Linked DNA regions of Homo sapiens: regions 1 and 3 are each linked to region 2. Evidence: promoter capture Hi-C in 16 types of primary human blood cells and fetal thymus (Javierre and others, 2016). All regions are on one chromosome and are shown on one strand. The core of a region is centred on a gene start or on the middle of the fragment in contact, and the rest is flanking DNA. Distances in the headings are between cores, read along the strand shown. Region 1 holds the start of ITPK1 (inositol-tetrakisphosphate 1-kinase). Region 2 overlaps UNC79 (unc-79 subunit of NALCN channel complex). Region 3 holds the start of MOAP1 (modulator of apoptosis 1).

What was found. Contacts are between HindIII fragments. The CHiCAGO score rates a contact against its expected background, and 5 or more counts as called.
Region 1: the fragment with the promoter of ITPK1 here is called in contact with a fragment that was not itself captured in region 2 in 2 of 17 cell types (M2 macrophages and M0 macrophages); the score reaches 5.3 in M2 macrophages.
Region 3: a contact is called between the fragment with the promoter of MOAP1 here and a fragment that was not itself captured in region 2, in 4 of 17 cell types (M2 macrophages, M0 macrophages, M1 macrophages and 1 more). The highest score is 9.4, in M2 macrophages.

The regions. Positions count from the first base shown.
Region 1 is chr14:93,112,980-93,117,427 of GRCh38, forward strand. It overlaps ITPK1 (inositol-tetrakisphosphate 1-kinase), which reads right to left and starts at 2,946. Exons shown (of 11, transcript NM_014216.6): 1 at 2,793-2,946; 2 at 2,090-2,326. The coding sequence starts at 2,184. The HindIII fragment of the contact is 12,611 bases long and covers 437-4,448 here.
Region 2 is chr14:93,532,484-93,536,783 of GRCh38, forward strand. UNC79 (unc-79 subunit of NALCN channel complex) reads left to right here. Exons shown (of 52, transcript NM_001395159.1): 11 at 67-95. Among named protein-coding and RNA genes, the nearest start is that of UNC79, 100 kb to the left of the region's middle. The HindIII fragment of the contact is 620 bases long and covers 1,598-2,217 here.
Region 3 is chr14:93,182,305-93,187,047 of GRCh38, forward strand. MOAP1 (modulator of apoptosis 1) reads right to left here and starts at 2,593. Exons shown (of 3, transcript NM_022151.5): 1 at 2,506-2,593; 2 at 2,255-2,409; 3 at 1-2,058. The coding sequence starts at 1,938. The coding sequence ends at 883. LYSET (lysosomal enzyme trafficking factor) reads left to right here and starts at 3,013. Exons shown (of 2, transcript NM_001098621.4): 1 at 3,013-3,181; 2 at 3,956-4,743. The coding sequence starts at 3,102. The coding sequence ends at 4,367. The HindIII fragment of the contact is 7,901 bases long and covers 1-4,743 here.

The DNA of each region.
Region 1 (4,448 bases), core at 1,696-4,195, 420 kb before region 2:
AAATGTGGCCACCAGGGGGCACTGCCCTGAAAGTAATAAATAAGAAACGGAAAAACTCTTTGGTGTTTTCTTTTCCTTCTTAGGCTTAAGTGATAAAATATCTAAAGCTTCCCTAGTGAAAACACAAAGTGGGCTTCCTCGGGTTCTAGAATGGCCCTGATGACTTCTGCCTTCTTTGAAGCCAATATTTTGGCCAAAGGAAGGCAACTAGACTTTGAAGACAACAACTCTTTCAGAGAAAGTAATGCTCTACTCCCCAGAACGTTGATAGCATAGCTTGCTCTGAACCTCCCACCCCTTTAAAGGAAGAATGTCTACAAGGTCAAGCCAATCTGCAGGTCCAGCACGAGGACCTAGTTGTGAGTCTCGGCGAAGAATATTTTGCGAGAGCCTCCTAATTACCAAGCAAAACAAGCCAACCCAATGACAAGCCTCAAGCTTGAGTTGCAGACACAAGATGACATAAATACAGACAGCAGTACAAAGGGTGCGAGGTATTCGCTGGGATTTCCCAAGTCTTACATGACTGCAGGGGGAGCTCCGGTGCCTCACATCAGAACTGGACTTCGAGAACATGCCAAAGCAGCTGCTCCAAATTTCTTTAGTGTCTTAGAATGCCCTTCCCACAAGTGAGTGTATCCGCGGTACAACGTTCAAGTACCCTTTTGTAATGTTCCAAGGGTCCTAAGACTCATTTTCAAAGCTCTGGCTTCGAGCTCCTCCTGATTTCTTCATGAATTGCTGGGGCCACTCTGCATGCCCTATTGATCATGAAGAGCCTGTCTTCTAGGGAAACCGGCCTGGGAGAAGGCAGCCAACCCCATCCCCAGACCAAGGGATAAAGAACCAGGCACTATCCTGTACAAGCTGTGCCCCTCTGGCTGCAGGAAGAGCGCCTGCGGGGCTTGCACGGGGCAAAGGAGCAGCAGGCCCTTGGGAAAGGCATGAGGCACACAGAGGTGCTGCCAGGCTCACCTGCGCATGCCAGCTCAGACCAGCCACGGGCCCCCAGGAGCACCAGGGGTTACGGAAACCCAACTGTTCAATTCTCCAAGATGTGTGGGGCCCCCACAGGGACAAAAATGCAAGTAGAGCCCATTTTCAAAAATCAGTCTAACAAGCTGCATCACAAAAGGTTTCCACCTGGAGTTTGCAAAAGGCTTTCAGAGCTAGATTCTCTTAGGCTTGCATTGAGAAAAGGGCTTAACTGCTTCTCAGAGGCAAAGCTACAGTTGTGGAGCAAGGGAAGGCCTACCTGACCCAAGACTCAGTAGTTCTGTAATTTATTAAGAACGTGATCTGTTAAACACCGGAGACTCCGCCAAGGAGCACCAGCATGGTGGGAGCAGGGGCACACAGCCCAGATGGCAGAAGGCCACTCCACACCACGGGCATTTACCCAGCACTTTCTACGCACCAGCCACTCCCTAGCTGCGGGACCCCAAGCTAGGTACCCCGCTCCTCTGCCGATCGGTCCCCGTTCTCAGACAGGTGGCCCAGAATCACCACCCTGGCCAATTTGCAGGGCTGCTGCGAGGCTCTAATGAGACAGCAAATCACCACATACATGCCAAGAATTGCTACTCGCTTCAACTGGGCTTAACCTCATGATATGCAATGACAGCCTCAAGAGCCGAGCACACGCGGGGCACATAGTAGGTGGTCCACAAACGTGGGTGCCCTTTCTTCATGAAAGGGAAGGGGACGAAGGAAGAAAAACACTCCGGTCCAAAAGTACCCTCAAGCCCTTACCCCACAGCGTGGATGCCCCGATTTCCCAGGTCCCTCCGCAACCCTCAGTAGAACTCCCACCGCGCCCTGGGCTGCTGGGGGCCTCCCCAGCCGGGTCACAGTGCACCTGAACGCCCCGGTCCGTGCCACCTCGCCCGCACCGGCCACCGCTTCCCTGGAACGCGGCCGGCGGCCGCCACCGCCACCTGGCTGCTCGGACTCAGTCTCCCCGCGCGCCGCTTCTTCCCGTTTGGCTCCGATCTCCCAAAACAACTAATGAGGCTGCACCGGGCTCGGGCCGGGGGTCACCGGGCTCGGGCCGGGGGTCCCCGGGCGCCGGCGCCGCGTCCCTCCTTACCTGCACAGCTCGGCGAAGGCCTGGAAATTCAGCTTCTTGATTTTCTTCTCGCTCAGCCAGTAGCCAACTCTCTTCCCTTTCAGAAAGGTCTGCATCTTCCTCCTCGGGCGGGGAGCCTGGGTCCGGAGGAAATCGCCCACAGGCCGAGTCTGGCGGCCGGCGCGCGCCGCGAGCGAGTGGGCACCTCCTCCCGGCGGCGGGGACGCGGAACGGGGATCGGAGCTGGGGCGCGCAGTCCTGCCGCGCGGAGCGGAGCGGGGCGGGGCGCGGCGGGCGGCCGGGAGGAGGGAGCGGCGCTCAGCGCGGAAGGCCACTGGCTGGGCCAAGCTGCCACCGCCCACGCCCCCGCCGCCTGCGGGCTCGCCCGCCCGCCCACCGGCTCGCGAGCGCCGCGCCGCCCGGCCTGCCGGCTGAGGCTGGGGCACGGCTGAGCCTGAGTCTGAGTCGGAGCTGGGGCCAGGGCCCGCAGGAGGGGAAGCCGGGCCTCCGCAGACACCGCCCCCGCCCTGCCCGCCCTCCCGCCGCGCGGGCCCGAGCCACACGCCCTCAGGCGGCGGCAGAAGCGCGGCCTCCGAGCCCTTCCTCCCTCCTCCTCCCGCCCGGGTCCTCGCCCTCTGATGTTCCCAGCCGGGCCGTAACCCCTGGGCGCGCTTGGACCCCGGCGGGGCGCACGCGGCCACTCGGCCCGGCCAGAGATCCTCACCCGCCGCCGCCGCCGCCACTTCCTCCTCGGCCTGGTCCTCGCGCGCTGCCCGCCGAGAAGGGCGGCGGCGAGCGCCCGCGCACTCGCCGCCCCTGCCCGCCGCCGCCCCGCGCTGGCCCGGCCGCCCCGCTTGAGCCCGCGGCGGCGAGGAAGCGGCGGGGCGGCCGCCAGGGGGCAGCGCCGCCCGCCGCCTCTTAAAGGCGCCGCGCCGGCCCTCGCGGCTACCCGGCGCCTGTTTGTGTCCCCGGGTGTGGGGTGCGGGGCGCGGGGCTTCCTGGGGGCGGCCGTGGCCCGGCGGTCTTACTTCGGGAAGGGAGCCGCGGTGTGGGCGTGTGTTCCGCCTGGCCTTTGGGGGCGACCGAGCCGCTGAGTTTCGGAAACGTCTCTGTACCCCCAGCAGGGTTCAGCACCCCCAAGGCAATCCATTGCAACTGCGCCCGGAAGGAGACCTTCCAGGAATTCGCCCCTTCCCTCGAGGAAGCGGACCCTGGCCCAGGATGGGGCCCCCCGGGGGGGTGGGTGAACACCCAGGGGCCCTCCTAGGCGTAGGACGTGACCACCAGTTCTCACTCTAGGTCCCCTTCACTGAGGGGGGAAGGGGCGGGGACTGGAGGCGACAGCGACAACAGCGGCCGTCCCCGGAGACCCCTTCCTCAGGGGTGCGGGTCAGCGTCGGCGCCGGGGAGTCACTAAACCCCGCCTACCCTGCCCTGCCCTATGGGGCAGCCAGGGAGCTTTCCTGCCTCAATGGTCTCTGGGTTTGGGAAGGAGAAATGGACTTCTCTCCCCAGGCCCAGGCAGGAAAAATGGATTCCCGTGGAGGGAAGGCTCAGAAAAGTTTGAGAGGAGACACTGAAGCTGGCCTTGGAAATCAAGGAGATTTTGATGGAGCAGGGAAGGGGGATGAGCTTGAATTGAGGCTGGGAGACAAGAAAAAGCCAAGTTGCCAGCGGGTGACCAAGACTTCCCTTGATCACACTTGAGTCAGGCTCCTCCGAGACCTCTTTCTGACCAGGCCCCGACCTTGGGCTCTGTCCTTGGCCTTCTTAGTCCAGTTTTAGCCAGAATCCTGCTGTCAAGAATATCTCCACGCTTGGTATGTGATCACCCTGGCCGGCCTACATTAAGAAACTCCGTCTCAAAAAAAAAAGAAAGACAAGGATCTCTCTATGCTGCCCAGGCTGGAGTGCAATGGTGCAGTCATAGCTCACTGCAGCCTCGAACACCCCTGCTAAACTGATCCTCCCACCTCAGCCTCCCGAGCAGCTGGGACTACACTGTGTTGCCCAGGCAGGTCTCGAACTCCTGGCCTCAAGCTGTCCTCCCACCTGGGCCTCCCAAAGTGCTGGGATTGTAGACCTGAGCCACCCCGCCTGGCTTCCCTGCCATCTTTAACGAGAATCTGATTAGTTTTTTTCTTTAACAAGGTAGAGAAAACGGATGGATGGAGAGTGGAAAAGACGATGGGTGGGAAACAGGACTCCTCCAGGGGGCCAGCTAGGGACGGGCACTGCATGCCTTAGGCAAGGGTACTGCGAGTTTCATAGGCCATGGGAGCCTAGAAGGTAAGTGGTGACAGGTTCCAGGGTCAGCTCTGTGGCTTAGAATGCCTGGCTCCTGGGGGGGACATGGAAAGCTGGATAAAGGGAAGATCAT
Region 2 (4,300 bases), core at 658-3,157:
TTAATTAAATAAAAATTAGAGGGGCTCTCTTTCTTTGTTGATATTTTGTGTGCCTTCCCCTTACAGCTGAAATATCTGCTATATGTCAGAAAAAGGTAAGAGCAAACCATTTGTGTCGTTGGGGCATGATTTATTGTGTTTGTATGTAAATTCATTTATTGACATCTGCCTCATTTCTGCACCGTGGTTTCCAGTATATGCATGCCATTGTATTTGTGGAGGGGTAAAGGAAATAATTTAGCATGCAAGATTGCTACATCCAAATGGTCTCTATTTCCATTTCTGCTTTTGCTCACCCATCTTATGCACAATGCTTTTGTTCAGTAATTTGCAATAAAAGCCTATGTGTAATTCTGGGATAGGAGTCCAATTAGAAAAAGGTTTGAATTATACTGCAATTTATGGTACTTAACTTTAGTTAAGGATATATCTTGTATGCTAGAAATCTCAATTGTTTTGAAGTGGAGTGCAAATAGTCCAATTTGTATGTGTGAAAAACATACCCAGACTGACTGTATATGGAAAGTATTTATGTGTAAGTTGAACAATACATGTAGCTAAAGATTCTTCCTTTAATATTTCCTTTAGTTTTTTTTTAATAATAGTTTCTCTAAACCACCTCCATCTTCTCTTCTTGTTTTAATAATTGAAAAGAGTAAGAGGAGGCAGTATGATGTCATAAAAAAGAATTTTTGACTAGTTGGTTGAGATTCTTGGACTCTGGCCAGTTCTGTTCCCTCCTACCTATGTGGACCTTGCACACATCATTTAAACTTTTTGGGATGTTGATTGTGAGTAGGTATATTGGAGGGCTGTCTCAGTTATCTATGGATGCATAACAAACCATCTGAAAACATAGTGTCTCATATGGCAACCAATTATTTAATCACAATTCTGTGGATTGGCAATTTGTCCTATGCTCAGCTCAGCTAAGCAGTTCTTTTGATAAATTACTCTAGGCTCACTCATGTATTTGCAGTCAGTTGGTGGGTAAGCTGGAATTGGCTGGCCCCAGATGGTCTCACTCCCATATCTGGGGCTAAGCTGGGATGGCTGGAATGGTGAGATGGGTGGGGTGTCTGGGCCTCTCTTTCCACATGATGTCTCATCGTCCAGGGGCTAGGCTGGACTTGTTCACAGGTGGCAGTCTTCTGAGAGAGTGAGAGAGCCTCACTCACTCAAGGCCTCTCAGAAGTCACACAGCATCATTTCTGTAGCATTCAACAGGTCAAAGCAAGTTCCAAGGCCGGCCCAGATTCAAAGAGTGGAGAAATAGGATCTTTGTGGTTATTGAAGGATTGGCAAGAATTTTATGGTCACATTTAATCTACCACAATCTGTCCTTTGGACATAATTATTTACCTTCTTTCCATATGCAAAATATGCTCACCATTTTATATGACCTCCACAAGTCTTATTCATTTATGGCTTCAGGCTTAAAGTCTAGTATCTTGTGATCTGCATGTGATATGTCACTGATTAAACTTCTTGGTAACTGATTCTCTTGATTCAGAGTCCTGTGAACTAAGAAGGAAAGTTATCTTCCCTCTCTGCACCCAAGACACAATGTTGAGACAGGGACAGGATCATAGCAATAAGCTTCTGTTCAAAAAGAGGAAGGGAAAGCAGATAGCAGTCATTGGTCTATAGCAGCTCCAGCCATAAACACATCAACAGTTCCTCTGTCTCCAGGAATAGCATACATGCCTTGATTATGATCTGGTTTTGTTTCCTAGAAATAGTTCCCTAATCTGTTCTTGTCCTCCTGAGCTCTTGGCTCCACTCTCTGAGACATCTTTTCTTTTCAATAAGAAATGGTCCATGTTGCAGCTGAGTAACTTTCTCAATCTGCTTCGTGCATGTAGGAGTTAGGGTCCCATATATCTCTTTTCATTTAGAACTGCGTCTCTTTAGTTTTAGCTGGTGGTGCTTTTGCTAGTATGACTTTCTTAAAAACTTTGTGGATTTTTAGTGAATCTCATTGGGGTCCTGAGCCCCCAAAGCCACATCTATAATGATTTTTGAGGCAGTCCTTCCTATATTTTGGGCGTTTCAGTGTGCCCTTAAAATTATTAGAAGCCCTGTTATAGCTGAGAGCCTCAATTAGACATCGCCTTATAACTTTCTGAAGCCTTAACAAAGGATCTTAGAGTCATAGACCATATTCTTCCTTTGATCTTTATCCTGAGGCCATTCTTACTTTGAGAATCGTTTCTAAGCTTGTGGGACCAGGATTTCAAACAGTTCTATTTTCTAAATCAGCATGTTTTGGCTCTGGGGACATACGTAACATATTTGACACCCAGGGTAGATCATTTTTTAACACTTCCCTCTTTATATGACAAACTTATTTTTAGTAACAAGCTTCAAATTAGCACATTTTTATTGCTTATCCTTTAATAAACATTGTGTTTTACACAGACATTAATTTGGAGAATTTCCATTAAGTTCATAACAGTTCAGAATTGTATGAGCTTGCCCTGGGTAGTTTGTATTCTACCTCTTTGTACTGCATATTCCCTGAATGGTATATTTGAAATAAGCAATGATAGCATCGTGATTGGAAAGATGAAGAGACAGACCTTGATTATTTCAATTCTGTGATTTTGTGAGACCACTTGGAGTTATTTCTATGTGTTTAAAATTCAAAGCAGTGAAGCAAAGTGGTTGGAGTGAACATTTGAAAACATGTCCAGCTGAATCTCCATCTAAGGGAAGCCTCTCTAGTTTAGTTTGGAAATGAATGAGCTGAATCCACATGGGTTGAGGCCTTTCAAATATATTATCAAAACTTAGTAGGAATCCTAGCAATTATTTAGAACTTCGATCAACTGAAGATTATTTTTGGGGAAATGTATTTTATTGCTGACATTGTTTAGAATTGATGGCATGTGGTAATAAAGCAGGTTGACTTTTAGTCGGTATTCCAGATATTATCATATGCAGTGTATCCAGATACTCCATAAGAAATTGCTCAAAATTTACATCGTAAAACAGCAACATTTAGTTATGTTCATAGACTCTGTGGATCAGAGATTCGGACAGGGCATGATGGAGATAGCTTGTCTCTGTTTGATGATGTTTGGGGCTTCATCTGGGAAGACTTGAATGCTGAGGGTTTTAATTATCTAGAGGTTTCTAGATCATACGTTTGGGCTCTGGGATGGGGTGACTTGAAGACTAGGCTAAGCCAGCGCCATTGACTCAAGACTGAAACATGGTCTCTCCCTGTGGCTTGGCTGTCTCATGGCATCCTGGCAGAGATCTGGGAGGAGTATCTAATGAGGAAGTTTCTGAAGAGAGAACATCTCAAGGCAGCAAGTGGAAGCTGCGTGTCCTTTTATAAGCATCATTTCTGTCATGCTATATTGGTTGAAGCAGTTGCAAGCCCATCCAGATTCAAGGGGAGGGAAACTATCCTTGACTTCTTGATGGGAGGAGTGTGGAGAACCCGCCTCTGGTCACAGATTATTTACATTCTTTCCACTTGCAAAATCCTGACTGGAGGTCCAAGATCTTCTCATCAAAATCAAGTTCAGGTGTAGATGAGGCTTTTTGGGCTTGGCTCCTTAAGTATTCTTCCTTTTGCTTTGAATACTTGTGAATGAAAGAAATGTTATCTGCATCCTGCACAGCTAACATGCAATAGTGATACAGGGGTAGGATTACTGCAGTAGAGACTCATGTAAAAAGTGAGGAAATGAGAGGAAGGTAGTCATGTCCGAATCTCTGATCCACAGAGCCTATGAACATAATTAAATGTTGCTGTTTTATGCCGCTAAATTTTGAGTAATTTCTTATGGAGTATCTGGAGTCCTTAGAAATTCTGAAAGTCACAGGGCACATGTCACTTGTTCCTTAGTTAGGTGCGAGTCCTGCTTCCTGGGAGCTGGTCTCTTTGGCTCTAGGCCCCACCCTCTGGGAGATGCCCATCTTTTCCTTCTCATAAAAAGTAGCCTGTCATTTACAGCTAAGTAGTTTTATCAGCCTATTTTTTGCTTATAGAAGTTTGGAAATCCCAAAACATCTTCTTTTTTGGGCTGTCTCTGTCCCTTTCAATCTACAATGGTATAATTCCATTAAAAACATGGGCTCTTATGTCTCAATTTATAAACCTGCTTCATTAAACGTGAGTCAAATGCACAAACCTCTTTGGGATAAGTCCTTCTACACCTTATGCTCTCTATGAGGCTCCTGGGAATGATGACTTACGATTCTTAGAACCCTTATTGTTGAATGAAGTGGATGCTGAGGTATGCCCTTAAGATCCTTAGAAGGCACCCCCCACCCACCCCCGGCT
Region 3 (4,743 bases), core at 1,343-3,842, 350 kb before region 2:
TGGTTCAAGATGGTCATTGCAAACTTAACCAATCTCAGCATTCTATTCTGCCTTTTGTTTTGATTGCACAGAATCAATATAATTCTGATTCATATGGAAAATAACTTAATATCTTAACCTCCGCTCAGGATCTTCATCATAAATGTAGGTCAGTACATACCTAAAAATTGTCAATGATCCAACATGGTCACATGTGACATGCTACACTTGCACCTAGTACCAAACAAGCTGATACTTCAATGAGATCTGGTTGGCATATACACCCAAGCCTTGTCTGTCCCCTCAGAGCACTGCACACAGATAGTGAAAGAACTTGTGTACAATAAGAAATTCACAGGGATGAGGCTGGGCGCAGTGTCTCACGCCTGTAATCCCAGCACTTTCAGAGGCCGAAGCAGGTGGATCACTTGAGGTCAGGAGTTCGAAACTAGCCTGGCCAACATGGTGAAACCCCGTCTCTACTGATAATGCAAAACTTAGCTGGGCGTGGTGGCACATGCCTGTAGTCCCAGCTACTCGGGCAACTGAGGCAGGAGAATAGCTTAAACCTGGAAGGCGGAGGATGCAGTGAGCCAAGATCACGCCACTGCACTCCAGCCTGGGTGACAGAGCGAGACTCTGTCTCAACAACAACAACAAAGATATTCACAAGGATGAATTTAAATAGGTAAATGGCAGTGTAGAACTACATCCTTCCTAGTCAATTACACCTTTAGGAGACTTTAAATAGGCACAGAAACGACAAAGGGCTTATACTGAGAATTGCACAAAAATGAGTTACTTGGCAGCACAAGGTAGGGATTGTATGTGTCACAAGAGTATATAGACTGTTCTACCTTCATGCTCTACTCATTGCCATATCCCTTCGTGGTTCCCTGAGACTCAGGTGAAATTACCTTCCAATATTGCCTGGAGAAGGGCCTCCTCCTCCTCAGCTGCCTCATAATCCTTTATTAGTACCAATAACTGCAAGAAACCAGGGGCTGGGCCATCCTCTGGCAGATTAAGCTCTCTGCGAATTGTTTTGTGGACTGCCCCAGCAATGACTTGGTCTAGGCGGGCCTGATTCACAGCATCTCTCTCAATTGCTCCTCTCTGTACCAGCTTCTGTAACAAAGGCTCCAGCCTTAGTACATAAGCCGACAACTTTTCCTCATCCTTCTGGTAAGTGGTTAGATATTTGACCTGCAACTCCCTAGGATTATCTGTAACCCCAAATACCTCCTCAAGAGCCTGCAGACATTCATCGACAGTAATTAAAGGATTGTTTATCTTGAGGACACGAATAACATCAAGTGCTGGGCCTCGAAGGCTCTCTAGCAATCGCCTTCTCTTCTCTACATCTGGCACCTGCCACGCCTTTATCATCTGAGTAGTATGAAACATCCAGCGTCCAAATTCTTCTTCTCCTGGTTCTGGAGACTCCCTGCCCGAGAACACTCTCAGCTTTTTATACTTCAAGCATTGCAGGGCAGGCTGAAGAGCCTCTAATGCCTGTGCCAACATAGGGGCCCACATTTCCGGGATCATGCCCTGCTCTGGGTCTAAGGAGCCATTTTCATGTCCAAGAGCTCTGCTCAACTCACCCACTGTCATGCCCTCTCCCGCTAAAAATTCATTTAATCTGCTTAAAAATGTATTATCTGGGTCAGGGGGCTTAAAGATCACTCTCCAGATACCCCCTTTTCCCGGTATCTCCTTAGGGACCAGGGCGTGACTAGTCTCCGCAGTAAGCCCTACTAAGGCTACTTTCCTGTTCTCATCCCTCCTGAACATCCTTCCAAGCAGTCTGTACTCCCCCAAGGGAGCTAAACCAGCCTGCAGAGCCTCCTCGATTTCTGCCACACTGCAGCTCTGGGAGATGCCGGCAATCAATAGCGCTTTCCGAGGGTTCATGTCCATCCCCCTGCACCAGTCTTCTAAAAGCCTCAAAGTCATGGTGCCCGAAATAATAGACTTAAGTTCTAAATATGCCAGACCACAGGCGACCACCGAAATTCAAAGTAATCCTCCGCGGTACCCCAGAGAAATCTTGTCAACGTGCCGAGGTCCAGCAGCCTGCAAGACAGAGCAGACAGGTTAGCTAAAGGTGCCAACGTCCAGGGCAAGCGTGCAGGCCCCAAGCCCCGCGCGCCCTGCCCCCAGCGGCGACGCCAGGGCAGCCGCACTGCGGCGCGCGCCCCTCACCCCTCCCAGCCCTGGTGCCTGGCGGATGTCGGGCCTGCAGGGCCGCGTCGGGCCCGCTTCCACTCACCGTGATCTAGTGCTCGTGCCCGCGTCCGTGCGCCGGCGGCCAAGGTGCCTGGCCGGGCCCCGACGAGGCGCGGGAGGGCAGGCTCCCCTAGGCTCTGACGGACACTCGGGGGCCACAGCGACCGATGCCGGTACTCCAGGTGCCTGTGGTACTGTCTGCAACGAGAAGTGATGGGGCGATGACAGTCGCGAGCGGGCACCAGGGGGCAAGGCTGAGGAGCGCTGAGTCGCCAGACCCAGAGAGCCACCCACCTGGAGGGACGTGCCGCCACCCGCGCCGCCGGAGCTCCGGCTCCAGCCCGGATTCCACCTGTTTTGGTCTCGCTCGGGGAAGCTGCGCGGCGGGCGGGGGCGATCTGACGTCATGAGGGGCGGGCCTCGGGGGCGGGGCGCGCGCGCTTCCGGCCCGAGCCGGAAGCTCCGACTGCGGCGGCATCCGGGACGGCGGGCGGGCTGGCCACCACGGGACAGGAAGGTGAGATCCGGGACCTCAGCTTTGCAAGCAGGCTCCGCCGGCGACCGCTGACGGGCGCTGGGCTCGCGGCGCTGCAAGGCGGCGAGGCCCGGGCCTGGCGCCGCCTGCGCAGCCTTGGTCGCGGCGTGCCGGCGCTGCAGCGCGGCAGGGGGCGGGGCCGGCCGCCCGGAGGCCCAAGTGGCGGGGACGCCTCCCTGCCGGGTCAGGTTCTCAGAGCGGGTCTCCGGCGGCGGCGACGGGGGCCGGGCCGCGCGTGACCCGCCGCAGTCACGCCGTTCTTAATCACTAGTAGCTGGTGCTCCAGGCTGGCGGCGCTCACCTTTCTCCTAGCCGGGTGACCCAGGGGATTTATTTTATGTTGGCTTTCTCTGAAATGCCAAAGCCACCCGATTATTCAGAGCTGAGTGACTCTTTAACGCTTGCCGTGGGAACAGGAAGATTTTCGGGACCATTGTAAGTGCTTAGGAGTTACTGTCTTAACTTGGGGGCTTGACTTGTAGCACCCCGCGTTCACGTCTGAAGCAGTACTGTTATGCCAGAAAGTGTTTCACCTGTCAAAGTGAAATGTGCTGTGAGAAACTAGTTTAATTCCAGTTTCTGGAGGGCGGGTATTATGGACCTGTTTAAGTAGGATGCAGTGATTTATTCTGAGGGATTCCCGTTAAAAAGCAGAACTCAGTATATACTGAAATCAATGGTTTTTTGTTTTTTTGTGTGTGTTGTTTTACTTGATTGTAAGTATTACACAAAACAACCTGTAAGTTTTACATTTCTTAATAGGTGTTTAATTTAATTATTTTAAATCTTAAGTGTGTTAGTGGGATATTTTAGAATTCTTTTTTTTTTTTTTTAATTAGACAGAGTCTCGCTCTGTCGCCCAGGCTGGAGTGCAGTGGCGTGATCTCGGCTCTCTGCAAGCTCTGCCTCCTGGGTTCACGCCATTCTCCTGCCTCAGCCTCCCGAGTAGCTGGGACTACAGGTGCCCGCCACCACGCCCGGCTATTTTTTTTGTATTTTTAGTAGAGACGGGATTTCACCATGTTAGCCAGGATGGTCTCTATCACCTGACCTCGTGATCCACCCGCCTCAGCCTCCCAAAGTGCTGGGATTACAGGCGCGAGCCACCGCGCCCGGCCTAGAATTCTTGGAGATAAAGCAAGTACATTTGGAGTAGTTGCCGTGACAGCATTACTAGACCCTAATTGTATTTTCTTTTTTAATTTGAAGGCACAGAGCATGGAGAATGATGAACTTCCGTCAGCGGATGGGATGGATTGGAGTGGGATTGTATCTGTTAGCCAGTGCAGCAGCATTTTACTATGTTTTTGAAATCAGTGAGACTTACAACAGGCTGGCCTTGGAACACATTCAACAGCACCCTGAGGAGCCCCTTGAAGGAACCACATGGACACACTCCTTGAAAGCTCAATTACTCTCCTTGCCTTTTTGGGTGTGGACAGTTATTTTTCTGGTACCTTACTTACAGATGTTTTTGTTCCTATACTCTTGTACAAGAGCTGATCCCAAAACAGTGGGCTACTGTATCATCCCTATATGCTTGGCAGTTATTTGCAATCGCCACCAGGCATTTGTCAAGGCTTCTAATCAGATCAGCAGACTACAACTGATTGACACGTAAAATCAGTCACCGTTTTTTCCCTACGATTACAAAACTGCCAGTCCTATATGGAGTCTGATCACAAGACTGCAGTTTCTTCACAGATCTCAGGAAGTTGTCGTGGGGCAGAGGCTTTTTAAAAACATGTGATTAGGGAGCTATCTTTATCTGAATAATAACGAATTTTTAGGTAAAACCTGAGATAGAGTACTACAAAATCATGTTGATGACTTCAGATTTTGGAAGTTAAATCATGTCTGTTATTTGCATTCTTTAGAAACTTGACTAAGTACCTGAATTCATATTTCTATTCTACTGTGCAACATAGTGATGATTCAGAAATTTTTCCTTTGGGGAAAAAAATGAATATGAACATTTCCATTGTGTTAAGTGTAAA